2 separate regions of the Homo sapiens genome follow, and region 1 is linked to region 2. The links are contacts of gene promoters, found by promoter capture Hi-C in blood cells and fetal thymus (Javierre and others, 2016). All regions are on one chromosome and are shown on one strand. The core of a region is centred on a gene start or on the middle of the fragment in contact, and the rest is flanking DNA. Distances in the headings are between cores, read along the strand shown.

Region 1 (4,301 bases), core at 194-2,693, 1.8 Mb after region 2:
GCTGTGGACGTAGAAGGATGCTTGTTTTACCTCGCATTTCTAAGTGTTTTAATAAGTGGAAGAATTTGCCAGAAACAAAAGACGCAGGAGAGACATTGTCCTTGCCTCTCGCCTCCTTCTGTTCCATACTACTTAGAAATGAGGTTTCAGGATTGTCCATGGAGTCATTTTCTAGGGGCTAAAGCAGTAGACCTTTTTCCACCCCTCTCTAAGGTACAGCTATCTATTCTAAGAGTTCGCATGAGTACTTATAGCTACTGCTTTTCTATACACTTTGTTTTCTATTTTATTTTTGTTTATAACAGGCCAGGAACCTACCTTGAAAACTGTATTAAATAAAATAGGAGATGAGATCATTGTAATAAATGAACTTCTAAATAAATTGGAATTGGAAATTCAGTATCAAGAACAAACCAACAATTCACTCAAGGTAATGTTTCTCTAATGAGGAAGCAGTAAAAAAGACAATACATACAAACTCCCTAATCATTAAGTAATTTTTAAGGATGCTTTGTTTATAATGTTTTTTGTTTATAAATTATTAATGGTACAGTATGCCATTTATGTTTTATTTTCCTAGTATAGTGGAATTTGGAGCTCCACAGCTGCTACTTTCTGCTGATGGCCAGTGGAATTGAACTTTACTAAAAAGGAGAGTTTGCTAATAATTCTTGGTAGCTTTAATTTAAACAATGATGTTCTAGTAGAGTGGTATGTAAAGAACACCTGCTTTGGGTGAGGAGATATGGATTCTTACCTTGGTGGTCCTTGGTACTCTCTGCCACCCTGAGAAAGCTATTTTACCTGTTGGGGTTTCAAGAACCTCATCTGAAAAAATAATGGATCATATTGAACTGTTTCTTAGCTCCCTTATATGTCTATATTTCTATATTTTTATAAAAGGTAATATAAGGGTTCTCAGGTAAAGAAAAACTTGAGCCTCATTCACATGCACATTTTATTCTAAACAAGCCTTCAAATTGAGTTCAGCTAATAAAAGTGCTGGTGCACTTCCTGAGGGGGAAATAATCTGTACCATAATTACCTCACATTGTTAGAGCTGGGGAATTGCTCAGTGGGATTGAACAAGGGACCTCCCTGACCCCATTCAGCCTTATAATCCTTAAAGTCTGTAAAGATTGTTCAGCTATAGGAATGGGCATGATTATGCCTATCACTCTAATAGTCAAAATGGAATTGGTATCCATGAATGTCATTCACCTCTTCAAGGAAAAGACATTATATAAATTCAAAACAGAAACCAATACCGGCATTTCAGTTCTAACCTGCCCAAGAATGTCCAGGGTTAGGTGTGGGCCTAGAGAATGCTCAACTCAGAACTGAAGGCTATTTGGAATTTCTGTTCACATTGTGATTGGGAGCCAGATGGCGGGAATCCAAAGGCACAAAATATTTTCCTTATTAAAATGTGTATGAGTTCATAGCCTCAAGTTCTAGTAAAAGTTAGAGACCAAAACACCCCAGCTTTCAAGTAGAAATTTTCATTAAGCTGGCATGTAGGTAGCCCACAGTGGAAGTCATCCTAAAGCAGCATCTCATGCTTGCCAGCTGGGTATATTACCATGCTGTGATAATATGGTTGCTGTTACACAGGTAACACTGGGGAGCATTTGGTAAGCCAACAAACGCAATTTATGAGAATGAAAAACATAAGTTCTTTATATATTTCTTAGTTATCTCCCAAGATTAAAGTATTTGAGAAAGACTTAACTTTAGTCCTGCTTTGTAATTGCAATGTGATTATAGTGATTGTTCCCTGAAAAAAATCCAGTAGAGAAAAATATTACCACCATCCAAAAACAGCTCTAGAAACCAATTTTTTATTGCTGGATTCATTGCTTTTTCACTTCATTCTGCATTTTCGGTACTCCAGTCAATGTGGTTTTTTTTTTTTTTTTTTTTTGAGACGAGCCTTTCTCTGTCGCCCAGGCTGGAGTGCAGTGGCGCGATCTCAGCTCACTGCAGCCTCCTCCTCCCAGGTTCAAGCAGTTCTCCCCCCTCAGCCTCCTGAGTAGCTGGGACTATAGGCGCGTGCCACCACGCCCGGCTAAATTTTTGTATTTTTAGTAGAGATGGGGTTTCACAGTGTTAGTGGGGATGGTCTCGATCTCCTGACCTCATGATCCACCCGCCTTAGCCTCCCAAGGTGCTGGGATTACAGGCATGAGCCACCGCGTCCAGCCACAGTCACTGTGATTATGGTTCACTGTTTTCCCTGCTCTTTAGAATATCTTAAAACACACATGGGGAGGACAGAGACTTATTTGTGAGCACTTTTAAATTTTAGGAACTCTGTGAATCTCTTGAAGAAGATTACAAAGACATAGAACATCTTAAAGAAAACGTTCCTTCCCATTTGCCTCAAGTAACAGTAACCCAGAGCTGGTAAGTGTATTTATAATTATTCTTGCTATCTGGATTTATAAACCCATGAAAACAAGTTCTTCAAAGCCTTTTGTTCTTTCATATACTTGCAGTTTTGTCAGCGATGATCTAGTTTTTTGTCACCTATACTAAAAACAGTATTTCCATGTTCACCAGTTTTCTTATCTTGGTGTCTCTGAGGAAAATCTAACACTTCTTTCCCAGTTTGCCAAGGGCAAGTCTCTCTAGCCTCTCTTTTTTCACTCATTTCTTTCCCTGAGAGCAGTTTGTCAACTGACGTTTGTTCCTTGACATTTTAGGCAGGTTAATTTTTTGTTATGAGAATAGGACATTGAGTAGTGTTCTTGATCTCTGCCTACTAGATTCTGGTAGCATCCCTCCATCCCACCCATTCACGACAATGAAAAATGTCTCCAGACATTGCCAAATGCCTCTGAGGGCAAAATCTTCCCCGACCATTGAGAACCACTGCCTTTGGGTAAAAATAAGCTTAAGGAAGTTACCATTTTAAAAATAGCTAAAGAGGCTGGGCACAGTGGCTCACGCCTATAATCCTAGCATTTTGGGAAGCCAAGGCAGGCAGATTGCTTGAGCCCAGGAGTTTGAGACTAGCCTGGGCAACATGGTGAAACCCCATCTCTGCTAAAAATACAAAAAATTAGCCAGACACAGTGGCACACCCCTGTAGTCCCAGCTACTCAGGGAGCTGAGGCGGGAGGATTGCTTGAGTCTGGCAGGTCAAGGCTGCGGTGAGCCCTGATGGTGCTACTGCACTCCAGGCTGGGCGACAGAGTAAGACCCTGCCTCAAAATAAATAAATAAATAAAAGCCAAAGGAACAATAAGCTTAGCTCTTTTTTCCCCTCAAATGTCCATCCTCTCTCTCTTCCCCCTTACAAGGTGTGTCTGTGCTTCTGCTTTTTCCCCGAGGCCCTAACACCTGGCTTTTGGCTGTCATTGCCACCACACCTAGGGTGGTTGAAGGTCATGAAGAGGTCAAAAATCCCTCGTCAGCCCTGGTTCTACTTCTAAGATTTCATTTTGCATACCACCTTTTTGTTTTTGAAATTCTGTTTTCTGCCCTGCCACTGTGCTTTCTTAGTTGTCAGCCCACTTCTCTGACTTGGCTGCCTCCTTTTTCTCTCCCCTTTTTTAAATTATAGATCTCTCCTACCTGCTTTACTCATTCTTACCCAACTCCACTGTTAATGCTCTCAAATGTCCAGCTCTAGCCTTGATATGACATCTAGTTCCAGCGATTTAATGGCCTGCTATTTTCTCCTCAAATTTTCCATCTTGAAGACCTGGCTCTCTTGTTTCTCTTGTTCCCCACATATCCTCCCATCACCTCGGTGAGGACTTGGCATCTTTATCCTGTCTTGCTCTTTCTCAGCCATTACCTGTCATTGGACATCCAGTAAGAATTTGATCAGGGGAATAGGAGGAATTTTCTTCTAAGCTGACTATGGCCTAGCCTCAACTCTCAGGGATAGGTGAGAGCAGAACCTTTCTGTAGTTGAAAATGGTTATTTTCAGCTGATAAACACAGCAGGGCATAAGGGAGCCAATCAGGTGCTTCCTCAACACATGGTCAAGACAAACAAGTACAGGTACGATTCAGCCAGTCTCACAGTGGAATCTCATATGTTAGGATTCACAGAAGGATTATCATGCATTGGGCATCTTTATCTTGACAGCGTGCAGCGTGGCCGAGTCACACCACCTCAGTGAGGCTGGTTGCCATCTGTGTCTGGCATTTGACTGTCATCTTGGGATCTTGCTTCCTGCCTTTCTGGGGATTCCCTTGGCTTGCTCCTGAGGCCATCCTCCCACTCATAATTCCAGGGCTTTGCTTAACTTCTAAGCTTTATATTATGTTACATTTCTTGTTACCTT
Region 2 (4,580 bases), core at 1-2,500:
AAAAAAAAAAAATTGGCCAGGTGTGGTGGCGGGCGCCTGAAGTCCCAGCTACTTGGGAGGCTGAGGCAGGAGAATGGCATGAACCAGGGAGGCAGAGCTTGCAGTGAGCCAAGATCACGCCACTGCACTCCAGCCAGGGCAACAAAGAGAGACTCAGTCTCCAAAAAAAAAAAAAAAGAAAAAAAAACTTAGAAATTCTTTGCTCAAGTATCACTTCCTCCAGGAAGTCTTCCTGACCCTCTCCCAGACCCCACCCACCCTCCATCCAGTTGGCTGCTCCAGGTTGTGTGGTGGGGGGAATTTCACAGCACTTTGTGTTAAGCGCTGACTTATCCCTTGTATAATACTTTCATTGACTGTAGTCCCTAATACTGGACTGAGCTCCTTGAGCGCAGAGACTGTGAGTCTTACCTGTTTTGGCATTCCTAGACACACCTGGTCTGTGGAAAGTGCTCACTAAATGTGAATATAAACTAATGAATAAATGGGTTTCTACAGCAGTTTATACTGCATCACACAGTTCCTCTAATGAATTTCTAGCCCCCTTCCCTGTTGGGGCATACAGTATTTTATTCAGTATTTCTCCTGAAGGCCTCTCTGTGCCAAGCTCAGTTTTAACCAAAACATTGGTGATCTGGTTAAGTCATTACTGAATTATCCACTACGTTGAATTCTCCCAACCACCCCGTCCCAGCCCTTAGCTTGGCCGAAGGAAAATTAATTGGTTGCAAAGTGCGTATCTAATTACAACAGCCAGCCCCCGACACAGAGATGCTCAAATGTTAATTATAACATATGCATCTCAATAACCGACGGTGGCATTTAGTGCAGCATTAATCACGCCACTTGGGCCCCCCAGTGCATACACAAAGCTCCTTTTCATCTGCCATTAGCACAGACTTTGCACTTTCGGCACGGACGTTCTCATCCTTAAAGCCTTTCGGACTCTAAAACCAACGTTTCCCTGTAAGCCTGGACTGCGCCTAAGCCCCCAGTTCTCCCACCGCAGAGGCCCCCACCCAGGGCTGCGCCAGCGCCGTGGGGTCGCTGGGCGGCGGGTTTTGGCGTCGCTAGACTGGGCTGTCTTGGCAGCTAAGGCGACATCCCGAGCGTCCTGGGGCCACCCTGCTCTCCAGGGCCCGCCATCCTGGAAAAGAAAGGCGAACTACATTACCCAGCAGGCCTCCAGCCGCCCTCTTTCCTTTCAAGTCTTTGCACGTGGCCGGAGGGGAGGGCGGGGCCTGAACGTCACTCTCCTACATTCTCTTTCCCTGTGTCAGATCAGGGATCATTTTTTTTCCTTCCTCTACTCCCTCCCCCCTACCCGCCCCTCCCTCCCTGTTTCCCTTCCCTCCCTCCCTCCCCTCTCTGCTGGGTCTGTGCGCTGGGGCGCCCGATCCCCTCCGCAGCTGGGACGCTCCGAACTCGAGGCAGGAGTCGGCTCTCCGGAGCCTCGTCCCTCCCTTCCCCTTCCCTGCCCCCTTCCCCCACCCCCGACTCGGGCTTGGCGCGGCGGCCAGAGGAACCCCGAGGTGAGCATCTCCTCGCCCGTCCTCCTCTTATAGTCATCTCAGCTTGCTGATCGATTCGGGGACCCGGGAGGAGGGCTGCGTGACGTGGGCGTGCTTATAGATAAATCCGGGAAAACCGCCCCAAACAATCAGCCCCCTTCCCCCCATCCCTGCTCCTGGGCCAGCGGGGTGTCCGCACCCATCTACCATCCCCTCCTCCCCCTCGGTGGGGAACTGCACTCCACAGTGTCGCCCCCTCCCTGGGTTTGTCCCATTCCCTGCCGGGTTCCCCGCCCCGCGGGGTGTCGTGGCCCTGGAGCTCCGGCGCCAAGGGGGGCTCTTGGGGGACGCACGGCTGGAGCCCGGCTCGCTTTGGAGCTGCGCGGTGTAGCCGCTGTCATGTGCCGGGTTCCGACCTGGGAGGAGGAAAAGAGCGAGCGCGATTCCTCTCCCTTTTGTTTTGAAGCCCGCATTTGCTGCATCGAGCAGTTGGTTTAGTATCAGCCAAACTTGCAGCTGTTCAGACCGCGCTCCGCCGAGGTAGGGAGCCCGTCTCGGGGTGGCGTTTGGGGGCCGGGGGCTGCGGCACTCGGGGCTGCGGGAGGGACCCCGAGAGTGTGTCGCCACGCCGCCCCTCCCTTCCCCGGTGACTGATTGTGTCTGTGGCAGCGGGCGTGTGTGAGTGTGCGCGCCCGTCCCCGCGGGCTCGGGGATGTCTGTGGATGGCTGTCGTCTAGACAGGGCGCAGCCCCCTCCCTGCGTCCCCGGTGAGCCCGCGGGCCGCGGGGGGAGCGGGGGATGGGAGCAGAGGAAGAAACCAAATCGGTGGACCCGTTGCGGTCTCCCCTTTGGTTATTCCCAACGGTTGTGGTTCTGTTGGCTTTTTTTATTATTCCTGTCGCTGCGGTGCAATCGGGCCTGGGGAATAGATACGCCCGGCGGAGAGGGGTTCACTTGACAGGCTCTGAAAAGCCACCTCTGGGTGGCGAGTGACCCGAGAGGCCGTGGGGTGGGCTCCGGCTCGGGTTCATCAGGACGACGAGCAGGTAACTGTCCCGGGCGCCGGTCATGGGGGAGGGCGGGCGGGGGGGCGATGGCTTGGGCTGCGGCGAAGGTCTGGGGCCTCGGAGGGCCGCGTGCCGGTGCCTGGATGTGGCCGGAGGGGGCGTCCGGGACACCGCGCGCCTGAGCCGAGTGTTTCTCTATTGATGGTAAAAGACAATCGGGAGGGGGGTGGTCCGAGCCCGTTATCTGGGCGGCGTTGGCTCTGTTTGGTTCCGCGGAGTTTTCAGGGTTGGGGCTGGGGGGTGTGAGCACCGCGGGGTGTGCGGCGTGTAGAGGGGAGGGCTGACTGGCGGCGCCGCGTGCGTCTCCACCCCGAGGAGTGAGGCGTCGCCTCCCCCGCCCGGCTGTTTGTGTGTACACACGGCTCCGGTGTGTGTGGGGGGCGGGGACCGCAGACCGCGGCGTAGTGGGGACAAGCGTGGGCCCCGATCCTCCGCGCGACCTGTCCCGCCAGCCCCCTCCTTGTCTAAGTCGGGGTCGTGTGTCCCCGCGCGCGCGCGCCCGAGTTACTTGGAGAGGGGACCGTGCGGCTGTGGGCCGGGGAAGACCGTAGGGTCGCGTGTGCTGGTCTTCGGTGCAGGAGTCCCAGGTCCGCTGTGCGGCCGGAGTCACACAGCCCCTCCCTCCGCGTCCGCGACGCCCCGTGACCCGGCAGACTGGGGGTCCACCCGGCGGCGCGGGGGGTTGGTTTGGCTGCGCCGCCCCCAGTCCACGCTGGGGTGACCCCGCACCGAGGCGTTCTATGGGTGTGCGTGCCCGCGCTCGCCGCCGCTGCCTTCGCAGACCGGGGAGAGAGTCAGCGACTGCCAACCGCAGCCCCGGCTCTTCAGTCTGGGGACAGTGGGAGCCCAAGCCCAGCGCGCCCCAGCCCGGCCCAGGCCGCCGCCCGCCCGGCGCTGTGTCTCTGCGGCCCGAGGATTATCCCCCAGTCCAGGGGCCCGCGCGACCAAGGAGGAAGCCGCTGGAGCCGCCGGCTCGGCCGCGGCTAGAGCCTCCGTAGGGCGAAAGTGACACAGCGCGAGAGAGCGCCGCCGCTGCTGGAGCCAGGGCCGAGAGGAAGGAGCCGCCCAGAGCGCAGGGAGGGGCCGCCGGCTGTCCGTTCCCAGTTCCTCCTGCCCAGGGCCCGATCTGGGCTGAAAACCTCAGGAATCCAGGCTCCTAGCAGGCTCGGGCTGCGCGAGGAGATGGCCTGGCTTTCAAGAAAACCCAATTATACGTGAACAGAATGCACCGAACAGACGCTAGAGGATGGCCAGGACACGCTCAGGTTGTCTGGGGAAACTCCTGAGTGTTTGACACAGGATTCGATTTACACACAGATCACCTCATCTGTGTCAAGTATCTGTCCTGGATAATGGATGCTCAGAGGCAGCAATTTTGTAACACATTCTAGGGCACAGTGTCATCAGTGATTAACAGCTTGCTAGAATAATAATATGTTTGTATGACCTTACAGGGCAGGTTTTCTTCCCCCAGAACCTCCCCCCTCCCCCGCCAGATATCATAGCATTTATTAAGAGGGTCCTGTGAGGTAGGAGAGTATTAGCCCCATTTTACGGATGAACACACTGAGGCTCAAAAATGTGGCTTGCATAAGGCCTCTGGGTGGGGGAAGGGCCACATTCCCCCTTTTCTCAGCTTATGGCATTTAATTAATAGTGGCCACTTTTTTTCTGAGTATGGATTCTTGACACCTCAGGAAATACTGAAGCTAAAAAATAGAGTATATTATGCTGACACATATTCTTTCTCAAAACACTCTTGATTTGTTAACCATTCCTAATGAGAGCAGCCACTAAAGAACGGAAGTCTGCATTGCTGTTATTACCACGCATTTAATAATTTGCTGTTGGTGAATGGATAGCAGCTGTGATACATCCAGTTTCTACCAGAATCATATGTGCATATAATAAATGTATATGGTATGCCTGTTCATGTAACACTTACCTGTGTTTGTATGGCTGTGTTCATTGAGTCTTTATTGAATTCAAGGAGCAAAGAACT

The links. The method cuts DNA at HindIII sites, captures the fragments that hold promoters and counts their contacts. A CHiCAGO score of 5 or more calls a contact.
Region 1: a contact is called between a fragment that was not itself captured here and the fragment with the promoter of CTIF in region 2, in 1 of 17 cell types (activated CD4 T cells). The highest score is 6.5, in activated CD4 T cells.

What each region holds. Positions count from the first base shown.
Region 1 is chr18:50,379,821-50,384,121 of GRCh38, forward strand. It overlaps SKA1 (spindle and kinetochore associated complex subunit 1), which reads left to right. Exons shown (of 7, transcript NM_145060.4): 3 at 306-430; 4 at 2,309-2,406. Among named protein-coding and RNA genes, the nearest start is that of SKA1, 6.9 kb to the left of the region's middle. The HindIII fragment of the contact is 2,899 bases long and covers 1-2,893 here.
Region 2 is chr18:48,537,781-48,542,360 of GRCh38, forward strand. It overlaps CTIF (cap binding complex dependent translation initiation factor), which reads left to right and starts at 1,251. Exons shown (of 12, transcript NM_014772.3): 1 at 1,251-1,532. RefSeq lists silencers at 1,357-1,436, 1,937-2,296, 2,727-2,816, 3,137-3,616. The HindIII fragment of the contact is 7,178 bases long and covers 1-4,580 here.